Linked DNA regions of Homo sapiens: regions 1 and 3 are each linked to region 2. The links are contacts of gene promoters, found by promoter capture Hi-C in blood cells and fetal thymus (Javierre and others, 2016). All regions are on one chromosome and are shown on one strand. The core of a region is centred on a gene start or on the middle of the fragment in contact, and the rest is flanking DNA. Distances in the headings are between cores, read along the strand shown.

Region 1 (4,138 bases), core at 988-3,487, 190 kb before region 2:
GGTTGTGTGTGTAAATATGTAATAAGCAACAAAGATGCATATACAAGATTTAGAGTTACACACCAAGTTTCAAAAAATCCTGAGTCCACAATTTACCTCTAAAAGACTCCAAAATTCAGTGAGCAGTAAGTCTCATGTGTTGGAACACAATGCAAGACAAAGCAGTACAAAGAGAAAACAGAAGATAAAAATAAGTAAAACTATTACTTTCTAAAAGTTTGCTGTGCTGACAAAAGATGTAAACACTATTAATGAAAGTTAAGGGAAGTACATTTTGTCTGCTGAACAAAATGAAATTTAAACATAAACGTGGTCAATATCCTATATTAATCAATGCTAGAAGCTCAAATGTAAAATTTTATCATGTAATCTGAAAATACTGACAAAAAAATTATTACCACGTTTTGCTAATTGGACTTGACAGTAAAACCTCCCATTTATATTAGCAGATGTCTCCAATGTGAAACACTTGTGTAGGAGGAAATGGGTCAAAAATGTTACTTTCATAGTTATCAATCTGATTTTGTCTTAGAAGAGTACCATGAACATGAATAAATATGTAAATAAATAGTAAAGCTTTTATGACTGAAAATTCAGTATAGAATCACAAATTATTTTATTATAAGCAACTTGCTTGTTGCTATTTTTCCTCATCTATTAAAGAAACTGAATAGGATTCAGGACAGCGTATTGAATAAAATGTAAAGAAAAGTGGACTAGAAGCAATAATTCTATTTTTACACAGCATAATTCAATGTATAGTAATGGATGTGAACAAGACTGGCTTTAAAAAATGAATTTTCTGCTTCAAGGCCAACATCTTTACAAGCTTGTAGACACACTGTTAGGGCAGACCAACTTCTTTATGGTGTCTCATTATGTGCTGGTTCTTTTCTGAAGGTCTTCGGAAGCCTTTCTTGCAGTACTCACACCGATGAGGATAGTCTTTTGTATGAATGGAAATAACGTGCCGTTTAAAGCCTGAGGCATCTGTAGTGCTATACTCACAGTACTCACACTGATATACTTTCCTGCCACTGTGTGTCTTCATATGCTTTTTAAGCTCATTTTGTTGCCTAAATCCCTTTCTACATCTCTTACACCTAAATGGAAGATCCTTTGTGTGAACTGAGAGAATATGGCGACTTAGAACAAATGGGTCTGCAATCTTAAAGTCACAATGTCTACATTGGTGCATTTTTTTACCTTTGTGGACAGCCACATGTTTCTTAAGTTCTGAAGGCCTGTGAAAGCCTTTCTCGCACATCTCACACTTATGAGGATAGTCTTTCGTATGAACTGAAATTACATGTCGTTTCAAATCACTTGAGTTTGAACTCTTGTGGTCGCAATGCAAACACTGATGTGTTTTGCTTTCTTGGTGGACAAGAGTATGTTGCTGCACTTCTTTGGTATCTGAGAAAGTCAGAAGACAAATGTCACACTTGAATGGCATCTCTTTACTATGCTTTGTTTTTATATGTGTTTTCAAGTTAGAAGAGTCTGCAGACCTATATTCACAGTACTGGCATTGGTATGGCTTCTCGCCGGTATGGATTCGCATGTGCTTTCTCAGTTCCGACGGGTGTCGGAAACCTTTACCACACTCCACACAAATATGAGGAAAGTTCTTGCTGTGGACTGCCAAGAGGTGGCGATTCAATAACCCCTGTTCAGCTGTCTCATATTCACAGAATTTACACTTGTGCATTTTGTTGGCCCCTTTTTCCTTATGCACCATTTTGTGAGTAAACAAAGCCCCTGCATGAGAAAAATGCTTCCCACACTCATCACATTCAATGGCCTTCTCTGCCTTGCTGGTCAGCTTGTGGCTCTCCAGGTGGTTATGTAAACTTATCTTCTTATTGGTAGTGTAATCACAGTCAGTACAGTGGTACTTCTTCTTGGCAAGGTGTTCAGGATGGTTTTTCATGTGTCTTTTCAAAAAACCCCTCGACTTAAACTTCTTCCCACAAATCATGCAAGGATAGACAGTCAAAGGATGACCATCAGGGCCAATAATTATTGCTAAGAAAGGAAAAGAAAGCAGTATGAGTGCTTAATCAAACTTCTGGTCTCCTCATGAATTTTTTAAAGCTTGTGTTCTGAACATTAGTGGGCAAATACTTTTAAATTATTAACATTCCTTTTACTGCTTTTCAATGTTAAGAGTTATAATAATGTCCTAATCGAGAGAACTGGTTTGGTTAAGTATGAACCAATCTCACCCCCTCCAGTTAAAAAAAAAAAATCAATCAAGCAGTGACAAAAGAACATGAATTTAGAAATGTGTAGCAAATAACTCATAAAAATCAAGTCCAGCATTTCTGCTTTGGTGACTGACTCCAAGCCAAATATATGCAAACAGTAAAGCTTAACTGCACCTATAAATAAATTTTAATATGCAAAGCAGCATTCAAAACAACATAGGATAGTAATCAGTCCTACAAATAACCTAGGTACTTCTTCCACTTCTCGGTAAATTATACCTGCTTTATGCTAGTATAAGTAGATCCATGTAATTTCGTTCACTTAAAGTTAGGTAACATTTTAGAAATTTATTTTCCTTTTCACTAAAATCACCAGAGGATTTTAATTCTTTTTCCTGAATGGTTGATGCACAACTGTTTCTTCTTATCCAAGAAAACCATTCATGAATATCACTGAATTTTGAAATTTTTTCTTTCAAATTCAACACATAAAAATACATGTGGCCTACTAGCTAAAACTCCATCATAACACCCCTGTGGAACTCACCTGTTTGGTACTGCCTGGAATCAGGTCTTCTCTTTTTCTTTGGTTTCTGTTTAGCCAGTCTGCCAAGGCCAGCAGACTCATCTATGTGCAAGAGGGCACTTGCAGTGCCATTCCGGTTTTCAATTCCATCAGAATTATTACCTAACAATGTGCATTAAAACACAGAATTACACAACATTATAAATTCTAAAGAATTACGAATTCTTTATTAACAACAAGAAGTCCTGACACTCATGAATGACAGAAAGTCCTTACTTTATTTATTTTTATTCTTTTTTTTTTTTTTTTTTTTTTTTTTTTGAGACAGAGTCTTGCTCTGTCACCCAGGCTGGAGTACAGAGGTGTAATCTTGGCTCACTGCAACCTCCTCCTCTCAGGTTCAAGTGATTATCCTGCCTCAGCATCCTGAATAGCTGGGATTACAGGAACAACGCCATCACACCCATCTCATTTTTTTGTATTTTTAGTAGAGAGGAGGTTTCACCATATTGGCCAGGCTGATCTTGAACTCCTGACCTCAGGTCATCCACCTGCCTCAGACTCCCAAAGTGCTGGGATTACAGGCAAGAGCCACACCTGGCCCCCAATTGTAGACCATGTGTTTTATGGGCATATATATGGCAAGACCAGGGGAAGTGCCTAGCTTCCGTATCTAGCAGCATGCTGCTCTACTGGACTCCCTGCTATCTCCCAAAAATTGTAAAGTTATGTGTCACCTATAAACCAAGATTTAAAATGTTAGACTGAAAGCTCCCACACTTCTTACATAATAAAAGAAGTTCATGTTAAAATTAAAGGCAACAGGGAGACTATTTAATCCTCCTCTACTTTTGCTTAAATCATGAAACCCTAAAAAAAACCCTTTTTTTTTTTTTTTTTTTTTTTTTTTTTTTTTTTTTTGAGATGGAGTCTTGCTCTGCTGCCCAGGCTGGAGTGCAGTGGCGCAATCTCAGCTCACTGCAAGCTCCACCTCCCAGGTTCACGCCATTCTCCTGCCTCAGCCTCCTCAGTAGCTGGGATTACAGGTGCCTGCCACCACGTCTGGCTAATTTTTTAAAAATATTTTTTAGTAGAGACAGGGTTTCACCATGTTAGCCAGGATGGTCTCAATCTCCTGACCTCGTGATCCGCCTGCCTCAGCCTCCCAAAGTGCTGGGATTACAGACATGAGCCACCACGCCTGGCCAACAGAAACCACTTTCAACAGTGAATTAATGTTCAAAAACTACTCAATCCTTCTGGCTTCTATGTAAGTTACCATAAGCTGCTGCCCATGCAATTGGTACGAAGGTTTTCATTTCATCCTCATCAATTTGCTGCTCATGCACAGCAGCTGCTGCTGCTGCAACAGCAGCATCCTCCTCTCCTACGATCACTTCCA
Region 2 (4,372 bases), core at 657-3,156:
GTAGAAACTCATGAACTGTTAAGATAACCCTTCATTACCAATTAAGATAATAGGTTGTAAGTAACCTAATGAGTACCAACTTTCTCTTATTTCCTTTAAAAACTGTCTCTCAAAACAGCCGGTCACGACACAATGTCAGATGCTTCTGGAATCTGTTTCTCTAATTACAGTTCTAAAACTGCCAACAAACTCCTTATTTGGACTTCAGTTTCTCTGACTCTTTGGTTCACCATGTTGTGCAGCCATCACCTCTCTCTAGTTCCAGAGCATATTTTATCAATCCTCAAAAGAAACCGTGCATCCACCAGCAGTAACTCCCCACAACCTCTTTCATCCAGTCCTTAGCAACCATTAATCTGGTTTTAGTCTCTATTCATTTGCCTTTCCTGGATATTTCATATACATGGGATCATTCAGTATCTGGCCTCTTGTATCTGACTTTTTCACACAGTGTAACATTTTCAAGGTTCACCTATGTGGTGCCTTGTGTCATTTTTTGCTATTTTCATGTCAGGTTTTGAAATGGTATGTTTTTTCTCATCTTGTAAGGGATTTCCTGTTGTAGAAAATCTGTTTCTGTGTATGACTGCAATTTAACCATTTTATTTGCTATCCAGATACATGTTTTAACTTGAGCCAACTATATTTCCACTTTGTATAATGAATACTAAATTTTGTATCTTAGATACTAAACTTTAGTAGATAACTAGGATACAAATTACAGTTTTCATATTTTTCTTTTCATGGAATATAATTTTTTAAAGTTTCTGATATTAATTCATTATAACATTTACTGGACAAACCAACCACATTTGGTTCTATGAACTCTTTTCATATTTTACGGGATTTTTATTTTGTTGTCTTAGGAATTGTGGCATCATTCAGTTTTGCTGAGAGTTTATTTTTATTAATAGGTTCTGTGTACTATGCAACCTGTAGTTGTTACTCCTGTTTTGCAAATATGGCATTAAAACATTGGTGAGTGGGGGGACTTTCCTCCCATTTTATTTCAGCAAAGAAATCTTGTCATTTCTCTTCAGACTTTAAGATTTATTGAGGAGAGTTATTCACTTGTTTAGTCTGGTAAACTGTGACCTTTAAATTTTGAAGGAGGTTGAACTAAAAGGTGAAATATGATAAATTGATGGCTCTATTTGTTGTGAATGGAAATTTAATTTAGACTTGTAAAAGATTGTTTTTTAAATTGCTAATTGTGTGACAGTGAAGAGAATGACTTCAAAATATCCCACTATACAATCTGCAAAGAAAAGAATTGTGTCCCCTTTTTAGTGTAGCTTAACACTTCACTGAAACTGTTTTGAGTTCTTAGGTCATATTTTTTTTTCTCTAAACGAAACAATTACTTTTCTAAAAGTCAAATGTTAGCCATCCTAGAAGTTGGGCATAAAATACTTGTAAGTATATGCTAATATTCTGATACTTAATGCCTGTGAAAAATGTGTATAGAATTTTCAATTTTTAAATAGAAGTGAAGAAAAAGCGATAATAATTACTATAAATTCAATATGCAGTTATGTATGTATGTGTGTGGTTAAGACAATTAGGTTCTCATTAAGCTTTGTTTTTTTAAAGATAACATACACATATATTGATAATGATAAACAATTCATATAGCTTTTTGTGTCCTCTCGTTTTGTGACATAAAAGGTCAATGAAAAAATTGGCGATTAAGTCAAATTCGCATTTTTCAGGACAGCAGTAGAGCAGTCAGGGAGGCAGATCAGCAGGGCAAGTAGTCAACGTTACTGAATTACCATGTTTTGCTTGAGAATGAATACATTGTCAGGGTACTAGGGGGTAGGCTGGTTGGGCGGGGTTGAGGGGGTGTTGAGGGCGGAGAAATGCAAGTTTCATTACAAAAGTTAACGTAACAAAGAATCTGGTAGAAGTGAGTTTTGGATAGTAAAATAAGTTTCGAACTCTGGCACCTTTCAATTTTGTCGCACTCTCCTTGTTTTTGACAATGCAATCATATGCTTCTGCTATGTTAAGCGTATTCAACAGCGATGATTACAGTCCAGCTGTGCAAGAGAATATTCCCGCTCTCCGGAGAAGCTCTTCCTTCCTTTGCACTGAAAGCTGTAACTCTAAGTATCAGTGTGAAACGGGAGAAAACAGTAAAGGCAACGTCCAGGATAGAGTGAAGCGACCCATGAACGCATTCATCGTGTGGTCTCGCGATCAGAGGCGCAAGATGGCTCTAGAGAATCCCAGAATGCGAAACTCAGAGATCAGCAAGCAGCTGGGATACCAGTGGAAAATGCTTACTGAAGCCGAAAAATGGCCATTCTTCCAGGAGGCACAGAAATTACAGGCCATGCACAGAGAGAAATACCCGAATTATAAGTATCGACCTCGTCGGAAGGCGAAGATGCTGCCGAAGAATTGCAGTTTGCTTCCCGCAGATCCCGCTTCGGTACTCTGCAGCGAAGTGCAACTGGACAACAGGTTGTACAGGGATGACTGTACGAAAGCCACACACTCAAGAATGGAGCACCAGCTAGGCCACTTACCGCCCATCAACGCAGCCAGCTCACCGCAGCAACGGGACCGCTACAGCCACTGGACAAAGCTGTAGGACAATCGGGTAACATTGGCTACAAAGACCTACCTAGATGCTCCTTTTTACGATAACTTACAGCCCTCACTTTCTTATGTTTAGTTTCAATATTGTTTTCTTTTCTCTGGCTAATAAAGGCCTTATTCATTTCAGTTTTACTGGTATTTCATTTTAAACTTAATTTCAAGACAAGTTGTGTCAACACGATTAACATGCAAAGAAATAAGACATCCAGAAGTGAGCCTGCCTATGTTTGTGGCCGTCAGAGTACTAACTTGATACAAACGGACACTGTGGCTTACTTTAAATGCTCTAATGAGAAACACACTTGAAAATTGTACCAAAAAAAATCACACTTCTATATGCAGCGTGTTAAGCAGTCCTCTCTAGACCGTGTATTCATTGGTCTTTCAGCTACTTTGTACGTGTCTATAAATTGCAGGTAACTAAGGAATGGATATGTAAGCAGGATCAAACTTGTTTCTTTCTCTCCCCTTCACGCTGTGGAAAAAACCAGTTTTACCTCCACTTGCAATTCAGTTCCTTTACTCCATATAAATCCAAACGGTTGACATTTCCTTTCAACTAGTTATAAAATGCCTCTGGTAAAACAAAATATTTAATTCCTTGTCATTTTTGTATCTCTATGAAACTTATCATTTTGCCTTTCTTCTGAAAACTATCTTTTAAAATGGCAATCTACTTGTTTCCATGGCCTATTAACTTTTAAGCCTGTGGAATGAAAAATACAGAATTTTCATTCTCAACAGGAATGTTGAGAACGCCGACTACCCAGATTATGGAGATGGAAGGGCGGGGGCTGGTGACCCAACTGGTTTAATTTGATGGGATTTAAATAAAAATGTAATGCCAAGACTTCATAAAATTTGCACATAAGCTAAAGCAGGAAACTAGAAGTTTACAAATAACTGTAAACCACAGTTTAAAGTATAAATTACAAATAAATTTTTCTACAATAAAAATAAATCAAAAGTCAAAATTAATGGTATGTATCAAAGTCAGCTTTCCAATATTTCAAAACTTTTCAGAGACATTACCTTAAATAATAAAACTCAAACACTAAAAGAGTGTATATTAGAGATGGATGTCATGTTTCTCAAAGTTCAGGGTTTAAAAAAAGCTTTATTCCAGAGACAATATTACTTAATCTGAGCTTTATGCCAAATGAGAACTGTATATTGCCCATTACCTTTTAAACACTGACTCAAAACTACTTTGTAATATTTAAAACCACTCTTTTCACTCTCCCAAAAATAACACCCATTCTGACCTTCATTACCATACATTAATTTTCCTTTTCTTGAACCTCTGACACAGATTCTCTGTTTGACCAAACTTTAGTCAGGTTTCTGAACCTTCTCCTAGACTCGCCTGTGCACTTCCTTGCCAAACTCAGTTTTGGCAAAGAACTCTCCTAAGCCAGGTTAGCCAGACTGTACCCCCACCGCATATCTGATCACACTCAACACTTGATCGATCACCCTCAATATCTGATCAGGTTTCTCATCCTCCACCACCCTCTAGGTGATGTCTGATCAGCCTAGCCTGTCTTCAGCAAGAATCCTCCTTATCTATGATGTCTTCTCTTAGTGATTGTCCATCCATTGACCCTACTCCCTGCTCCTTGGCTATAAATCCCCACCTACCCAGCTGTGTATGTGGAGCTAAGGCCAATCTCTCCCCCAGTGCAAGACCTCATTGCTGTGCTGTTGGTCGTGAATAGTCTTCCTTATCAAGTTTGAACAAGTATCACTGAATACCATTTTTCCT
Region 3 (4,227 bases), core at 197-2,696, 160 kb before region 2:
TCCCTCTACCCAAACAATCTCTGGCTTCATTAATTTTTCCCCTCTTAAAAAAATGTAATTATAAAATTATAAATGCAAACTAATCTTCTCTGCATAATTAAAGAAAACCACATGAAATTAAGGCAATGAATGATGGAATAAATGTGATTTGTTGGATTATTGAAGTGACCTTCCAATTTTCCTAAAAACAGCAATTTCATTAGTTCTAATAAAAGATCAACTTGTGGGCCAGGCATGGTGGCTCACGCCTGTAATCCCAGGACTTTAGGAAGCTGAGGCAGGTGGATCACAAGGTCAGGAGATCAAGACCACCTGGTGTCTTGACAGTACAGACAGTGAAACCCTGTCTCTACTAAAAATACAAAAAATTAGCCGGGCACTGTGACGGGCATCTGTAGTCCCAGCTACTCGGAAGGCTGAGGCAGGAGAATGGTGTGAACCCGGGAGACGGAGCTCGCAGTGGGCCGAGATCGTGCCACTGCACTCCAGCCTGGGCGACAGAGCGAGACTCCATCTCAAAAAAAAAAAAAAAAAGATCAACTTGTAGCGTAATTTTCCTGTTTCAGGTATTCATCTTCCTTACCTGTCTGTTAGAGTCTGATAGATGATCAGTTTCTTTAATTTTGAAACTCCCTCCTACCTCTTTGTTTATATGATATCTTAGTTCTCTTCTCACCTTCTTAACCGATGGCTACTATAGTCTTGTCCAAGGTTTCACATTCAGCTTTCCTCTCTACTACTTTCTCATTTATTTCCACAGTTTTTAATGACGACTTACGTGAAGATGATCCCCAAAATCCACACGCTGAGAAGGACCTAAAATTTCCATCAGACCGTTTACTGAACATCTTCAAAAATTAAAACCCAGATTTTTCCTGGCACAATCACTATGGCCTTTTCCTCCTTCCCTGACAGTTGGTTTCTCAGATCTTGTCAATTTCTTCTCCACAATTTCTCTGTTATGTTTGCCCTGCTTGTATTCCCATTATCACCAATCACTCTAAGCTTCCTATTTTCTGATCCCTAGAAATGAAAATAGTTTCTGAAATGGCCTTTGTAACACTTCCAAAACAAATGACTAGGAAACCTATTATAAGAAGGGGGTCTTGTAATGCCAACTAACAAGGCATTCCTACAATCTGTAGCCAGATGAATCTTCTTGAAGCACTGCTTTGATCACTCCCTTACCAAGAAGCAGTCTCCAATATTCAGTGACCTCCACATTATTAACCCAAGCTACCACATGACTTATTTACTGTTATTACTCAACTTTGCAACCTAGCTGGACAGCATGTCATTCTTCAAACGATCTTTATGTTTTTACCCTGGCACTCAACATCCTAGAATTTTCTAGGAGGTGAGGTCTTGAAAAAGTGGAGCTATACCTAGTCAACTGTCATTAGCAGGGTCAATAACTGCTAATATTTACAAATATTTATAAATGCAGGAAAATGTCACTATCAGTGACCTAGGGACATAGTGCTAGTGTCTCATGTATGTAACCAAACATCTGTGCCACAGATAGCTAAATTCTGGTTTAATCATTCTGAAACAGGCAATAAAGAGAAAAGAGCTCAAACAAGTGAGAAACCAACCACGAACTGCTACATTCTAGGACTCTATTCAGCACAACACCTACAAACTCAAAATCTTGAATGAAAGAGGGTTAAGTATAATTTTACGTCATATACATATCCCTACTATGTACTTGAGCCTATGATAAGGGCTGACCACCAATCCAATCTTCACTATAGTGAGCAATCATTCTTCAACAACACATTTGACTGATTATTGTCCTATTTTATCACGGCGAAAACTGACAGAGGCACAAGAGGTTCTTTTGCACTTCACTGTAAAGATGACCACACCTTTACGTTAGTAAGCTTTCTTGGGTTACAAATGCCAATTTCTTCCTACAACCAGAACAAAACCATGCTCTTAATGGTAATAATATTAACACAATTTTGATAAGGTGAAAAATAAGTTCCCATGATTTCACAGTAATTTCCCATGCCTTTGTAGTAAGAACCAAGCTTAGAGATCAGCTGAATTGGAAGACAAATAAGCAGAATGATCCAGAGGATCCACTCTGAAAAATAATTTAGGCCTGGTGTGGTGGCTTAATCCTGTAATCCCAGCATTTTGAGGGACCACGGGAGGGGGATCACTGGAGTCCAGGAGTTCTAGACAAGTCTAGGCAAATAGTTGGATCCCTTCTCTACAAAAAAAATTAAAAATTAGCTGGACGTCGTGGTGCACCTGTGGTCCCAGCTACTTGGGAAGCTGAGGTAGGAAGGATCATTGGAGCCTGAGAGGTCACGTAGCCATGACAGTGAGCTATGATTACACCACTGCACTCCAGCCTGGGTGACAGAGCAAGACAATGTCTCTATAAAAAACTGCAAAATTAGCCAGATGTGGTGGTGCATGCCTTCAGTCCTAGCTACAGTGGTATGAAGATGAGAAAACAACTAATAGCTAGTAAACCAAAAAAGGAGAAATAAAGCAATGTAAAGTAGAAAACCATTCTACAAACATATATATGAGTGTGTGTTTGTGTGTGTATGTGTATATATATGGGTTTTTTTGGTGTTCTTTTTTTTTGAGACAGGGTCTTGCTCTGTCACCCAGGATGGAGTGCAGTGGTGTGACCATGACTCACTACCGCCTCGACCTCCCACGCTCAAGCGATCCTCTCATCTCAGTCTCCAGAGTAGCTGAGACTACAGGCACTTACCAACATGCCTGGGTAATCTTTTTTTTTTTTTTTTTTTTTTTTTTTTTTGTAGACATGAGGGTCTCAGTACATTGACCAAGCTGGTCTTTCACTCCTGGCCTCAAGGTAACTGCCTGTCTCTGCCTCCAAAGTGCTGGGATTATAAATGTAAGCCATCACAGCCAGCAATATTGCTAAAATAATCTCGATAAAGGCTCTTGAAAATTTATTAGCTTTCACAAGTAATGTAAGAGTGCCTATTTCCCAAAAACTAATAAGCATCACAGACTTTAATTTTTTGGCCAGGTTGGGTGCCGTGGCTCACCCCAGTAATCCTAGCACTCTGGGACGCTAAGGCAGGTGGAATGCTTGAACCCAGGAATTTAAACCCAGCCTGGCCAACATGGTGAAACCCCATCTTTACAAACAATACAAAAATTAGCCAATCATGATAGTGGGTACCTGTAGTCAGTTATCTGGGGTTTGAGGAGGGAGAACTGCTTGAGCCCAGGAGGTTGAGGCTGCAGTGAGCCATAATCTTGTCACTGTACTCCAGCCTGGGCAACAGAACTAAACTGTCTCAAAAAAAGGAAAAAAAAAATGTGACTGTGCATGGTGGCTCACACTTGAAATAGCAAAGGCAAGAGGATCGTTTGAGGCCAGGAGTTCAATACCAGCTTGGGCGACAGAGTGAAACTCTTTCTCTACTAAAAAAAAAAAAATTAGTTGGGTGTGGTGGCACACCCCTGTAGTCCCAGCCATCAAGAAGGATGAGGAGAGAGAATGGCTTGAGCCTAGGAGTTTGAGCTTGCAGTAAGCTATGAAGCTTTTTAATACCCTGTCTCAAAAAAAGAAAAAGTAATAATAACTTCTAACCCCCTTACTGAAAACAAACAAACATTTATATCCAATGTGTTTTTTCTGGAAAGTCTGCTTGTGCATTTCATACATCTCTCTATCAAGTTTCATCTCACTGATGTGATGTTATGCGTGTTGATAATGTTATGTGATCTATTGTTATACTTCTATTTATCCATCATATATTTAAATTTTTTAAGCAACCCCATCAGATTTTGATTGGAACTGCATCAATCTACACTGATCAATCTGAAAAGAAATAGCATCTTTAAAATATTAACTTTTCTACTCCATATCTATTCTTTAATTTAGGTCCTCTTAGATTTAATATATGAATATGTGAGAAAGATTGTTTCATTACATTTACTTCAAAGCACTGGATGTTAGCCTGCTATAGGCTTCTTTAATAAAGTCAGAAATAAAAGTCAAATGTTAGTCTTTTTAACTTGTATCCATGTTTGTTTTAATTTATTCTAACTTCACCCATTTTTAAAAGGTGGCATAATTTGTTAGATGCAAAAATCTGTTAAGCCCTTTGTATAAACCAACTATTTAATTCACCAAAAGTAGTAGGTATGACCAACCCTATTTTCCAATTAAGGAAATTGAAGCTTAAAATGCTAAGAAGGCTGCTCAATGACACACTATGGCAA

Evidence for each region. Contacts are between HindIII fragments. The CHiCAGO score rates a contact against its expected background, and 5 or more counts as called.
Region 1: a fragment that was not itself captured here is called in contact with the fragment with the promoter of SRY in region 2 in 6 of 17 cell types (activated CD4 T cells, total CD8 T cells, M1 macrophages and 3 more); the score reaches 9.0 in activated CD4 T cells.
Region 3: a contact is called between a fragment that was not itself captured here and the fragment with the promoter of SRY in region 2, in 10 of 17 cell types (M1 macrophages, total CD8 T cells, naive CD4 T cells and 7 more). The highest score is 11.9, in M1 macrophages.

Annotation. Positions count from the first base shown.
Region 1 is chrY:2,976,700-2,980,837 of GRCh38, reverse strand. ZFY (zinc finger protein Y-linked) reads right to left here. Exons shown (of 8, transcript NM_003411.4): 6 at 4,016-4,138; 7 at 2,758-2,898; 8 at 1-2,028. The coding sequence ends at 845. All of the region lies in intron 2 of ZFY-AS1 (ZFY antisense RNA 1), which reads left to right. Among named protein-coding and RNA genes, the nearest start is that of ZFY-AS1, 24 kb to the left of the region's middle. The HindIII fragment of the contact is 276 bases long and covers 2,100-2,375 here.
Region 2 is chrY:2,785,216-2,789,587 of GRCh38, reverse strand. SRY (sex determining region Y) reads left to right here and starts at 1,906. Exons shown (of 1, transcript NM_003140.3): 1 at 1,906-2,733. The coding sequence starts at 1,985. The coding sequence ends at 2,599. RefSeq lists promoters at 1,575-1,888, 1-1,888, 1-1,984. The HindIII fragment of the contact is 2,145 bases long and covers 1,580-3,724 here.
Region 3 is chrY:2,948,227-2,952,453 of GRCh38, reverse strand. The region is part of intron 1 of ZFY (zinc finger protein Y-linked); the gene reads right to left. Among named protein-coding and RNA genes, the nearest start is that of ZFY, 15 kb to the right of the region's middle. The HindIII fragment of the contact is 878 bases long and covers 1,008-1,885 here.